2 separate regions of the Homo sapiens genome follow, and region 2 is linked to region 1. Evidence: promoter capture Hi-C in 16 types of primary human blood cells and fetal thymus (Javierre and others, 2016). All regions are on one chromosome and are shown on one strand. Each heading gives the region's core, a stretch centred on a gene start or on the middle of the fragment in contact. The rest is flanking DNA. Distances are from core to core; before and after follow the strand shown. Region 1 holds the start of TLR3 (toll like receptor 3). Region 2 holds the start of CCDC110 (coiled-coil domain containing 110).

Evidence for each region. The method cuts DNA at HindIII sites, captures the fragments that hold promoters and counts their contacts. A CHiCAGO score of 5 or more calls a contact.
Region 2: the fragment with the promoter of CCDC110 here is called in contact with the fragment with the promoter of TLR3 in region 1 in 8 of 17 cell types (M0 macrophages, M1 macrophages, M2 macrophages and 5 more); the score reaches 22.1 in M0 macrophages.

The regions. Positions count from the first base shown.
Region 1 is chr4:186,064,831-186,071,435 of GRCh38, reverse strand. TLR3 (toll like receptor 3) reads right to left here and starts at 2,280. Exons shown (of 5, transcript NM_003265.3): 1 at 2,188-2,280. The HindIII fragment of the contact is 1,902 bases long and covers 391-2,292 here.
Region 2 is chr4:185,467,299-185,473,943 of GRCh38, reverse strand. It overlaps CCDC110 (coiled-coil domain containing 110), which reads left to right and starts at 2,211. Exons shown (of 7, transcript NM_152775.4): 1 at 2,211-2,270; 2 at 2,895-2,999. The coding sequence starts at 2,261. LOC105377590 (a long non-coding RNA gene) reads right to left here and starts at 2,513. Exons shown (of 2, transcript NR_133944.1): 1 at 2,184-2,513; 2 at 1,681-1,829. RefSeq lists a silencer at 1,997-2,626. The HindIII fragment of the contact is 5,122 bases long and covers 1-3,830 here.

The sequences.
Region 1 (6,605 bases), core at 1,031-3,530:
AGTTCCTTCAGAACTTCCTATCTCTATTTACCAACTCATAGGTAAGGTCCCTACAATACATTCTCCTTGCTTAGGTGAGATGTACCCCTCTGGTAGGGCTCCTGCTATAGGTCAGAATTGCTGAGAAGGACTAATCCATTACAAAGCATATCCCTGAATGACTTAAGGACTTGCCCCATCTGAAGACATTTCATCAGTGGGCAAAACTCACCAAATGCTAGGCAGGAGGAGTGAAAGAGGAACAAACTTGGAGAGACTCCTATGAAATTTCAGAATTGCAACCATGCACACAAAAATCCTAAAACCTTCATTTCCAAAGAAAAGAGATCTTGATTAATAAAAAACTTTTCATCAGTAACATGAACCACTGGAAAACAATAGAGATAAGCTTTCCAAACATTTAGAGAAAATTATTTTGAATTTAAAATTTCATATCCAGGCAAAGCATAGTGGCTCATCCCCACAATCCCGGCACTTTAGAAGGTGTAGGCAGAAGGAGATCAGGAGCTCAACACCAGCCTGGGCAACATAGTGAGACCCCGTATCTACAAAAATATTTTAGAAAGTAGCCAAGTGTGGTGGCACAAGCCTGTAGTTCCAGCTACTTGGGAGGCTGAGGCAGGAGGATCGCTTGAGCCCAGGAGGTTAAGGCTGCAATGAATCATGATCACACCACTGCACTCCAGCCTGGGCAACAGAGCAAGACCTTACCTCTAAAAAACAAGAAAATTACCTTTGACCAGGCCAAGAAAATTACCTGTGGCTCATGCCTGTAATCCCATCACTTTAGGAAGCTGAGGCTGGAGGATCCCTTGAGCCTAGGAGTTTGGGACCAGCCTGGGCAACACAGGGAAACCTCATCTCCACCAAAATTTTTTTTTAAATTAGCTGGCCATAGTGGTTCACACCTGTGGTCCCAGCTACTCGTGACACTGAGGTGTGAGAATTGCTTGAGCCAGGGAGGTCAAGGCTGCAGTGAGCCACGATCATGCCACTGTACTTCAGCCTGGGCAACACAGCGAGACCTTGTCTCTAAATCGATAAATGAAATAAAATGAAATAAAATAAAATAAAATAAGATAGGGAAATTTCACATCCATCTGAATAACTAAATAAAAAGGTATAAGTATTTTGAGATATGCAAAAATTCAGTAAGTTTATAGCCATACGATCTGTATGAAAAGGTTATTCTAGGACATGCTTCAGTAAAACAAGCAAAAATGCAGTTAAAGGATGAAATGAGAGTGAAGAAAACGTTGCTGTTGAATGAGATCTAGCAGAAATAAAGAAAATGAAAAAAAATTAAAAAGAGACTCACTCAGCCTTAGAATTTTGGAAATATTTTGTGAGGGCACATGGAATTCACATTCTTTGTCCAAGTGAGAGACAATATTGCCTGATGGTTAGGACATGGGGTCTGGAGGCAGACTACCTGGAGTTAACCACTATCCATAGTTTGATTTGTAAACTTTGCAACCTTTGTAGTAGGTTCATACACAGGCACGCCCATATGAAGACACATACCAGCACGTAATCATCTGTAAACCTGGGAATCAACTTGCTGAAGCCAACTCCATTTTTACCCGAGTACCCCACAATTGCCGATACCAGTTTCTGATCTTCCCATACACCTTAACAACTTTCCACTTCTCCACTTCTTCCATTATCCTTCATTAGGTGAAAGAAAGCCATTTACTTACTCCTAGGCATACCTGAATGTTCTCTCCTATCTAAGACATTGTCATACAATGCCAGCTCCTGTCTCCCCTCCAGCCAATAAAACTAACAAAAGGGGATACGCTCTTTTAACCTCTTGGAGTTTTGTTTCTTTAAGGCAAAGATGTGATTTGCTAAAAAGACTGTTGCAAAATGATTTCCATAGCTTCCCTAATGTGTTTTTTCCAGGTACAGAATGCTACAGAGAAAAAAATTAAATACTGCATAAATACATTATCACATTAACTAGATATTGGTGCTATTACTTGTGTTCTGAGTTATACCCTTCTCCCATGCCCATATCATATCCCTTTTCTTCCACTTTCCTTCCTGAATAATTCTGACTAGATTTCAAGCACCAGATCAAAGAAAGACCAAAGAAGGCTAAAACCACATGCATTCTGCTAGCAAACTCTACTCAGCAAGAGAGACCCTGCCCAGTAAGAACGTGAAATGAACACCTTCACTTACTTGGATGACTGCTAGCCTTTCCTTTTTTCTTTAGTCCAAATCCAGACATTTCATCAGGGAAGTGTGTGGCAAATAGACGGCACTCTCGAAAGTGAAAGTAAAGCTTGAAAAAAAATGCTTTTATGTTTGGTGCATTCCAAGAAGGGCAAAGGGAGAAAACAAAAACAATCTCTGACAACCTCAGAGAGGCGTTTCAAACCGCCTCTGAAAAACACCTAGTTTTTATTTTATTTTAACTTTTTTTAAGCTGAGATCCTTGGATTTCATTGAAAGGGTCACAGATTTAGCAACAGCTAAAGTTGAAAGTGGGGACCTCACCATTTGATGTGGGCGGGTCTGGACCTCTGCAAGTTAAGGAATAACAGTGAATCCCTCAATTTTCTGCTAGACTCATGCGAAGCTGTCAGAATTGAGTAGTGTATGGTCACAGGGACAGAAAAAAAAATCCCTAATCAAAGCTGAAGTACTTTCCCTTCTTTCGTCTGGCTTTTATCTCTTTGCAACACTGTAAAATAACACCGGCAGAAATTAACCTCTTGATCCAGGAAGAAACTGAGTTTCACAGCAGAGAAAGAGCCAAACATGGCAAAGCTGAGAGCCAGTCCCACTCCTGCTGATCCACTTTTCCACGGTCAGACGCGTTAGGGAACAGATCAGTATGCCCAGAAAAGTTCAGATTAACTAAGAATTTCGTTCTTAATTTGCTTTAATGACTCCAACTAGTTAAGTAAATGTACTTGTTAAGAAATGAACTCACTTTTTTTCATTACAGATGTGCTATGATCTATTATAACTATATTGTTATATAGTGAAATATCACAATTGGAAGGAACTATAGACCACCTAATCTAACTCCCTTGTTTGAGAAATTAGGAAAACGAAACCTAGGGAGGTGAGTGGTTTGCCTAAGAACATGCCACAAGCCACCATATGCTTCAATCACACAAGTCATAAAACAACTGGACGGCTGGGACATGGCATTAGCTTGAACTCATTGCAGAGCTGATGGCAAGAAACAAGCGTGCATCATGGTGCAAAGTGCCCTCTTGTGGGCTCCAGCTTCAGCTAGACCGCTTTATAGTTACTGGGCTCAGGGCTACATGTCTCTGATTTTCATTTGTGACATCTGTAACATAACACCATAAGCAAACAGATGTCCTGAGTACGTGACTGTCCCTCACATCTATCCATTGGGATGTCCAGGAAAACTTCACTAATATTCAAAAGATTTCTTCTCTGTGAGCGCCTTGAAGGCAGGGTGAGGTTTATTCTTTGCATTATAGCTCCCCAGCAACCCTCTGAGGTAGACTGTTTCTTTGGCCTTCAATGAAAGAGACTCGTCCTCAGAATTCAAACCCTTGTGTGGCCTTCTCCCACGCTGACTCTAGGCTTGGCCATTTGACTAGCTTTGACCAGTGGGATATTAGCAAGCATGCAACAAGGTCTCATTGCCAAACACGATTACCCAGGCTTGAGAAGCAAGCAAATAAATGATTGTTGTTTTAAATTTAAAAAAATTGGAATGGTGTCATATGCATTATTAGCGAAATAAAACACATCATCTCAACAATCCTTCATACCTATCCCTTATGCCTTATGACTCCTTATACAGATTAAATTTCCCACGACTTTGGTTGACTAATGAATGGCTCTCGATAAATAAATTTTATTGATGGTCTCCTGATGCAGTAGTTTGGGCTTAATACCAGTTCATATTCAGATATTATTAGTCCTTAATTCTTGCTAGTTTCTAAATACAACACAGATTGTTTTCTCTCTACTGTACATTTCTTAACTATGTGCATTAACTTATTTAGCTATGATGGTGATTGGAGCAATAGTGAAAAACCTCATTTTTCCCCTTTTTAAAAGAATTAAGGCTGGGAGCAGTGGATCATGCCTGTAATCCCAACACTTTAGGAGATTGCTTGAGCCTAGGAGTTCAAGACCAACCTGGGCAACGTGGTAAAACTCCATCTCTACAAAAATTACAAAAATTAGCTGGGCATGTTGGTGCATGCCTATAGTCTCAGCTACTTGGGAGGCTGAGGTGGGAGGATCACTTGAGTCCAGGCAAATTCAAGTTTGCATTGAGTCATGAGTGCGCCACTGCACTCCAGCCTGGGTAACAGAGGGAGACCCTGTCTCAAAAAAAGAGAGAGAGAGAATTAAAAAAAAATGTATGCCCATAAATGTAAAATAACAAATTTAGTAAACACTGATATTTCACAGCATTACAGATCAGCCAATCTCAGAATAATGGGAAGCTGTATATTCCCAGCAAAACAGAGATCTACAGAATTCTAGAAGCCAAAGTCCCTTAAATTTATTCACATTCTAAAAACTCTAAGTTCCCTTCTTCCATTTGAGGGGCCTCTTTAATGAGAGTTTAGTAAGATAATATACACAAAATTTCTGGAAGAATCACTTGACAAAACACAGCAAGTTACAGAGACCGGAGTGACAAGCCAGATATAATTAGCAAATTACCACTCACATGCTGAACTACACAGACACTGTTCTTCTCTGCCCGTTCCTAATAACAATTCTTAATAAAACAGCCGTTTTTATTTTTTTTAATCTTTTTTTTCCTGAGACAGAGTCTTGCTCTGTCACCCAGGCTGTAATTCAGTGGCGCGATCTCAGCTCACTGCAAGCTCCGCCTACCGGGTTCAAGTAATTCTCCTGCCTCAGCCTCCAGAGTAGCTAGCTGGGACTACAGGCACGTGCCACGACGCCCGGCTAATTTTTTGTATTTTTGGTAGAGACGAGGTTTCACCGTGTTAGCCAGGATGGTCTCGATCTCCTTACCTCGTGATCCACCCACCTTGGCCTCCCAAAGTGCTGTGATTACAGGCGTGAGCCACTGCGCCCGGCCAATTACAACCATTTTACCTATAGACAAAGATAGTGTATAGTCTGTAGGCAGTCTAGTCAATTCATTATAAGATTTATAAGGGAAAGTTTATCATTTTCATTATCATCATTATCAGCACCTACAATACTGAGGCTTTACGGAACCATCTTTACAATCTCCCGAATGAATGAATTTAGACATGAGGATTGTGTCACCGCAGTTTCTAACCACAAATATAGAGAATTGAAATTGTGGGGCAAACAGAAGACTCTCCTCTCAATGCATGTATGTGAAAAGGCAGATTAGTACTGAACAATACAATAATTACACTCTGTGAGGGCCAAATATAGAGAGAACTAATTGCTCAGTAATACTTAACATTTGTGCCAGCAATGAATATCCAATTATGAGTGAGCTGTTGGGTATTTGAGGCAATATCATGCATAGGTTTAATTTAAACGGGCTCTTAGAGTCTCAGAAGTAAACCTTTATTCATGGTGTTAAAGTACATTAAAATGGAGACCAGGCCAGAAGAATCCATGAACATACCAAACCAGCAAGGGCTCATAAGCGACCTCGACCTTGCTTGATCTGCAAACATAAGTGACATACGCAAACATAATAACTTGAGCACTATATCTTGTAAATGCCTATATTAAAGAAAACGTAAACACAACCAATCAGAAGCAGCCAACAAACTTATATAACTAAGGACTTTCCAATGAGATAGACCAAATAAGGTAGCTGTATAACTGTAAACAGTCAAGCGCTGTCTTTGCTCTACTTCTGTCTCTGTCCTGAAAAAGCCTTCTCTTGTGTTCCCTTGGTGGAGCTCCCCAACCACTTCTGGTTCATGAATCATTGCTGGTTCAGAAGCACTGTAAAACTGTATTGTGCCTCAGTTTACTTTTTTATTTGTATAGATTTATGGGAGTACTAGTGCCATTTTGTTCCATGCGTAGATTGCATAGTGATGGAGTCAGGGTCTTTAGGGTATTCATCACCCAAATAACATATATTGTGCCATTAGTATCAGTTTACTTTTTAAGAATAGGAACAAGGAGATTGGACCAACCAATGTTCTCTGGGTTGGCAGGAAGCCAAAGTAAGGCTAGACCTTTTCATCATTCAAACTTCTCATGGGTATGTAATGCGATGAATATATTATGAACCTAAACAAATGGTTAAATTCCCTGAGAGCACCAGATAGACAGTCATTGTGAACTGCACTCAACTGGTCCCTTCACAGCCCCCATTCAGAAAGGACATGGTTCTGATCTGTATTGGCTGAAATTCTAGGAAGCATTTCTTTTCTTTCTGAATCCTTTCTCTAAAGTGAAGATACAGTTCCTCTTACCAGTGTCACTTCTATTTCTGCTCACTGAGCTTTCGCTAGTTTGAACTAGGCTCAACCAAAGACCCCAGCAACAACTTTAAGAGAGAAAATAACAAATGTCCCTCTCCCTACTCTCGCTCATGTCCACTGAGCAGTATTGAAGTTGAATTTCCCCTCTGAAAAAGAAACCAATGTTTGCCACAGAGAGCTTCTGGTTTAATCTAA
Region 2 (6,645 bases), core at 962-3,461, 600 kb after region 1:
CAGGAAAAAAATTAACTTTATCAATGAAGCAGCCTCATTGTGTGGGCTGACACCAAGGTTTGCTGTCTCACAGGGAGATCAAGGATGCAGACACACAAAGAGTGAGGTTAAGAGCCGAAATGTAATAGGCGACAAGAAAGGGAATAAGCTCTCCGCTACAGAAAGGGGTCCCCGGGTTGCCAATTCGCTGTGAAATATTTTTTATAGAATTTTATAGATGAGCTAATGGGGAGGCAGTCTGATCTACATAGGGCGTGAAAAACCAGTTAGGACCAGGTGTGCCATCTGCATAGGGCATGAATCTCTGGCAGCCCCCACCCCAATCTTTTACTACGCAGGTGGGTTCTCTGACTGAGCTTTTCCATATCGCCCATCTCTTTCTTACTGTACACGTGCTAACAAAAAAGGGGAGATGGAGATTCCATGGTGGACATGCCTGGCCCCCAGGTAGCCCTTTTCTATCAGCGCAGCTGCTGGCATCCACCCGCACGCTGCCCCCCAACCCCCTGCGCCCTGGTGTGCACGCTTCCAGCTTCCTGATCTATCTTTGCAAGGTTTGCAGGCTTTCAGGCTGCTCTTTGTTAGAAAAAAAAATGATTTCTTGAGCTGTTTTTTGTTAGAAGTTCTGCTGAAGACTCTTTTGCCCTATCTGCCTAAATAATTTCTATCTCCTGAATCATCAATATCAATCAGCAATGCAGACCATAAATTCTCAAAATTATAATTTATTAAAATTGTCTACAATGCCACAAGAAAGTCAAATCTTCTAGAGCCCATTTTTTTCTTTCTTTCTTTCTTTTTTTTTTTTTTTTTTTTGAGACAGAGTGTCGCTCTGTGGCCCAGGCTGGAGTGCAGTTGCACTATGTCGACTCACTGCAGCCTCTGCCTCCTGGGTTCAAGTGATTCTCCTGCCTCAGCCTCCCGAGTAGCTGGGATTACGAATGTACTCCACCATACCTGGCTAATTTTGGTATTTTTAGTAGAGACAAGGTTTCACCATGTTGGTCAGGCTGGTCTCGGACTCCTGACCTCAGGTGATCCACCCGCCTCGGCCTCCCAAAGTGCTGGGATTACAGGTGTGAGCCATCATGCCGGACCTAGAGCCCATTTCTTTTCTTTTTTTTTTTTTTGTTTGTTTTTTTTTGTTTTTTTGAGACGGAGTCTGGCTCTGTTGCCCAGGCTGGAGCACAGTGGCGCCATCTCGGCTCACTGCAACCTCCGCCTCCTGGGTTCAAGCGATTCTCCTGCCTCAGCCTCCTGAGTAGCTGAGATTACAGGCGCGTGCACTAGAGCCCATTTCTATAAGAAACAAATTAGAGGAAGTAAGCACTGAAACTATCATAAGAAGTTTCATTTCAATGAAAGCAAGCCATCATGTATTACTTATTATATATTATATGTTATTATATAGCAAATTATGATATCCTGGTGATTGTGATTTTGAATTTTAATTTTCTATGTGTGATGGTTTACTACAAAATAAATAATATATACTCGTTTAAAACTTTAAAGAGCACCATTTTCTGATGGGCAGGAGGATTAGCTGGGGGCACGCACCCAGTCCTTGGTTAAAGGAGGTCAGGTTTCCCGTGAACGCAACATCAATCCTGCACGTGATACACCAGGTGCGTAAAAATTAACATGCTTAGACAAAGGAAGCCCACCGTCGCTTCCCACAGCTTTCATGAGCATATTTTAATACATGTTTAGGTTAATTCATTATTGAAAAATAGGAGTCTTCTTTTCATTGCAGCAAACAAAAGTCCTTTCACAATATTGGTCATGGGCCGTTCAAATCCCCAAATGCTGAAACTCCTCTGAGGGATGCGCTGAAATGAGAGGACTAAGAATTAAAAAAAAAAAACAACAGCGATGAAGTGGAGATGTGGAAAGGCAAAGGGAAAGCTCTCAGGCGTGTGTCCGTCCCCGGGCGGTCCCTTTCTCCGCACCGCTTTGGTCCGGCGGGTACCGCAGCGAGTCCGAGTGTGAGCAAGCCCGTCCCGGACAGCCGCGCGCGTGTGCGGGGAGGCGCCCAGGTGGGCTGTCCCAGGCCAGGTTCCCAGGGAAGCTCTCGGGGAAGCGTCCGGAGTGAGGAGGGACCCACCGGGACCCCACCAGGGACCCCAGCCGAGCGCGCGCCGCCGAGGGTGGGGGTGGGGCCGGCGCCCCGGCCACCCGGTTACCTGGCGACAGGATGCCCTGCGCGGGGCGGCGGAGCGGGTGCGTGCGGCGGCGGTTGCGAGAGAGATGAGCCGCGGCGATGAGCCCGGGTAAGAGTTGGACGGGGCGGGGCTCCTAGGGGAGCCGCGGGAACGGAGGGCAGCAGAAGGGCATTCAGCAGGCGGCTCCCCGCTCGAAAACCCGGGACATCCCGGGTCCGCCCTTCTGCACTCGCCGCACATCTCCCGCTCGGCCCTAGGGCTGAGCACCCGCTGCGGCCCCCTGCGTCCGCTGTGGCTTACAGGCTGGCTACGTGGTCTGCCGCCGCCGCCCGCCCAGCGCGCCCTCGGGTGGCCGCTTGCGGAAAGCGCCGCGCCCCGCCCCAGGCCCGGCCTGATGCCGTCCCTCCGCCCCATCCCTCCGCCCCGCCCCAGCCTTCAGCCTTGACCCCGCCCCATTCCTCTGCCCCCACAGGTCCCGCCCAGTCTCTCCGCCCCATCCCATCCCTGCGCCCCGCCCCAGCCTTCAAACCCGCCCCCTCCTAATTCCCTCCGCCCCGCCCTCCCCGCCCTCCCCGCCCCCCCGCCCCAGCCTTCAGCCCCGCCCCCTCCTAATTCCCTCCGCCCCGCCCCAGCCGTTAGCCCTGCCCCGCCCCATCCCTCTGCCCCGCCCCCACCTTCAGCCCCGCCACGCCACGACCCGCGACAGAACAGCCCCGGACGGTTCTGTTACAGAAAAGCAGCACCGGGAAGAGGATGAAGTTGACTCCGTTCTCCTTTCAGCGTCCAAGATCCTAAATTCTTCGGAGGGGGTGAAGGAAAGTGGCTGCAGTGACACAGGTAAAATCGCCAGACCGTAAAAGGCTCCTTTAACTATACACAGGCGGCAGCATCTGGCCTGTGCCACCTGCTCACCTGGCGTGCTTCCCACGGCCGTGATGACACGGACAGCAGCCACCACGGCACTCGCGCTTTGTGCCAGTGCTGTTCTAAGCACGTAATGGATCAACTGTTTAATTCTCACAACACTTTTACGAGGTGGGTGCTACCACGATCCCCATTTTGCAGATAAGGAAACGGGCACAGAGAGGTTAACTCCCTAAGGTCACACAGGCAGCGAGGAATGGAGCGGGCATTCAGCAGGGCGGCTCCGGACTGCCTGTCTTCACCACCACGCTACGCTCCGTTGCTTCTCTGAATGCTAAGTAAGAATTGTTGAGTTTTTTGGACACACACTAAAACGATATGCAGTCAGCCCTCGGTATCTGGGAGTTCCGCATCCTTGGATTCAACCAACCACAGATGGAAAATATTCAGGGGGGAAAATTTTTAAAAATAACAGTACCACAATTTTTAAATGCAAATTTTGAACAGTATAACAGCCATTTACATAGCATTTACATTGTATAAGGTATTACAAGTAATCGAGAGATGATTTAAAGTATACAGCAGGATACACATAGAAGCTATGCAAATACTACCCCATTTTGTATTAGGGACTTGGGCATCTGCAGATTTTGCTATCCGCAGAGGCTCTGGAACCAATCCCCTGTGGATATCCAGGGAGGGGTGTATACCTTTTCTAAAGAAAACTACTTTTTATAGTAAATATTTACGGACTACAGGATATTATATGGGGAGGATGTTTGAAATAGCCACATAGCTAAAGCTTTCAAGCACCACATAAATTATGAATAAGATGGGGGTACCCAGCTAGGGGAATCTGAGGACATTGAAGGTGGAGTCCCAGGCGACTGACTACACGCCTCTCAGAGGAGCCTGCTGTGAGGGGACATGCCGGGGAAGGAGCAGAGCACGGGGCAGGAGAAGGGTCTAGACTGATGTGCCATGCCCGGACCCCCAGTTGCCCCTCTGTAGGATATGGGCAATCCTGATGCCAAAGTGCTGAACCACAAGAGGACTGAGGTTGGGACAGGATTTCTGCACCTCCACCATGCAAGATCTTCACAAAAAGCCTTGTCAGGGCCCGGAAAGAAGAGACTAGAGCAGCCACACCTCAGTAGACAGAAGACACCCGGGTGCCCAGGCACTACCAGGATGAGCAACACCCCAGTGGAGGCCAGCAGGACAGGCACTGGCCAGTCCCCTCTCCGCCCTCCTGCCTCCACCCTTGAGATATGCAGGTTTCCCTGGGCAACCAGGAGGGGCAAAGGGGCCCCCTGAACGAAGGAGAAAGAGTCCTCACAGAGAGTTGAGACATTGAGGTAGCTCCGTATTTACCTCAAAGAGAGCATGTAAGGTCAGAAGAAATAGAAGTACCTTAATTTGGCAAGATCACATGTTTTTTGACATGAATGAGGCTTAGGGTTCTGGAGAAAGATGCCAACATTTATAGAAAATAGTTACATGCAAAATAGCACATGTACATGTTTAAGAGTTACAGTCTTTCTTGCCAGAACACAGTGTTTACAGGTCTGGGGTTGACACAGGACAGGTTCTTAATAAACACCAGTTATCTTGAGTCAGGGGCCACCCAGGAATTTCCTGCCTGCAACTATAGGCAAAACTAGGAGGTATGGCTGGCGCCCTTCTCTCTACTCTCCTACTGATGCTTTCATTGTCACCAAGTGATCCATTCCCCGTGTACTGAGAAAATAATGACCTGATTTGCATAACTACTGCCAGGTTACAAAGAGTTATAGAATGTTCCCAAGGTGTCTCTGATTTCAGAACTAGTGGTTAACCTAATTAACCCTTATTGGAATGGGTTTGTGAGAGACTTTTGAATTTGAGGGTGTCCAGGGTGTTGTTCCCAGCACCCTGTTGTACCCGAGCTTTCATTCATTCATTCGTTTGTGGAGCATATTCTTTTGAGCACCTGCTAAGTTTCAAGTGCTGTTCTAGGTGCTGGGGATCCAACAGTGAACAAGACTTGCAAGATTCCCTGCCCACATGGAGCTTACCTTCTAGTGAGGGAACAGACAGACAAAGGCTATTGTGTGTAAGCGGGGAATAAATTCTATGGAGAACATAAGGCTGAGAAGGGGGGGAGGAATATTTGGAGTGGCAGAGGTGGGTGGGAAGTGTGTCATTTTAAACAGGGTGGTAGGAGAAGGGCTCACTCAGCAGGTCACGTCTGAGCCAAGACCAGAAGGAAGTAAAGAAGCAATCTGTGCAGATTTCTAGGGAAAGAGCACCGCAGGCAGAGAGAATGGCAACTGCAAAGACCCTGTGGTGGGAGCGTGGCTGGTGTGATTGAGGAACGGTTGCTCTTGTAAATGGAGCAGAACAAGTAGGGAAGGGTAGGCGGGAGGAACCAGGACAGGGCTTTGTAGTTCCATGGATGAATTTGGGATTTATTCTGAGAAAATTGAGAAGCACTGGAGAATTTTGAGAAGGCTTCTCTCCCCTCCGTCTTGACTAGAAATTTTGAATTTACCAAATTATCATCATATTGCCTCTGCAGTAATGAGTTAGTGTCTCTTGAGCATTCACTATGTGCCGTACACCTCGTACACCTCAGTAAGGGCTTTATCTACAAACTGGACACTCGCCTAGAGTTATCCCCTCACTGCGAGTGTGTGGCAAAGCTAGAATTCAAATCTGGGCGGCAGGCAACCTGTTGCATAGCTCCTTGCATAATGACTGTGACAAAGCCTCATGCAGAGGGTGCCACACCTCACAAAGCTTTGTAAGACAGGGACATCTAGGAATGAACTTGAATTGTCACAGCAGAACTCAGTATTAGAACCTGCGGCCAGGCATGGTGGCTCACGCCTGTAATCCCAGCATTTTGGGAGACCGAGGCAGGAGGATCACCTGAGGTCAGGAGTTTGAGACCAGCCTGGCCAACATGGTGAAACCCCGTCTCTACTAAAAATACAAAAATTAGCCGGGTGTGCTGGCACATGCCTGTAGTCCCAGCTACTCAGGAAGCTGAGGCAGGAGAATCACTTGAACCCGGGAGGCAGAGGTTGCAATGAGAAGAAACTAAGAATTACAAAGCTTGCAGAGAGCCTGACATCTTATATAGAATCGTTACCCTGTTGCATTTTCAGAATGTATTGGTTCCTCTTGGTCTGTTTGCTACAGGTATGCAGTTGGTACTTTTTGTATACATTGAATACAATATTTTTTGCAGGCTCAGAATAAAAATTACCTCAAAAGTCATCCCATTGATAACTACCTTGTTTTTCACTTTTGACAGAAATATGAAGCAGCTGGAAAATTTAAGTTGAATATGAGATGAGTAATATTCTTACATTCCCAATAAACTCTCATCTTGGTGGGTGGGACCATGCCTTCCGCTTTGTTTATGTGCCTCCCGATATTGTATGTTTAGCAGGGACTTGGTAAATGGTGAAGTGTGATTGTGTTTTATCTCCTGGGTTCTTTGATAATTTCCCTTCCAATTCTAGAATCACGTAATTCTGTGTGACTAAGTATTGCCTAGTTTTTAAATTACCTTTCCTTTGGGAATAAGTAGCAGCCGATGTCTCTGAAACTCATAAGAAAAACAGAAAGT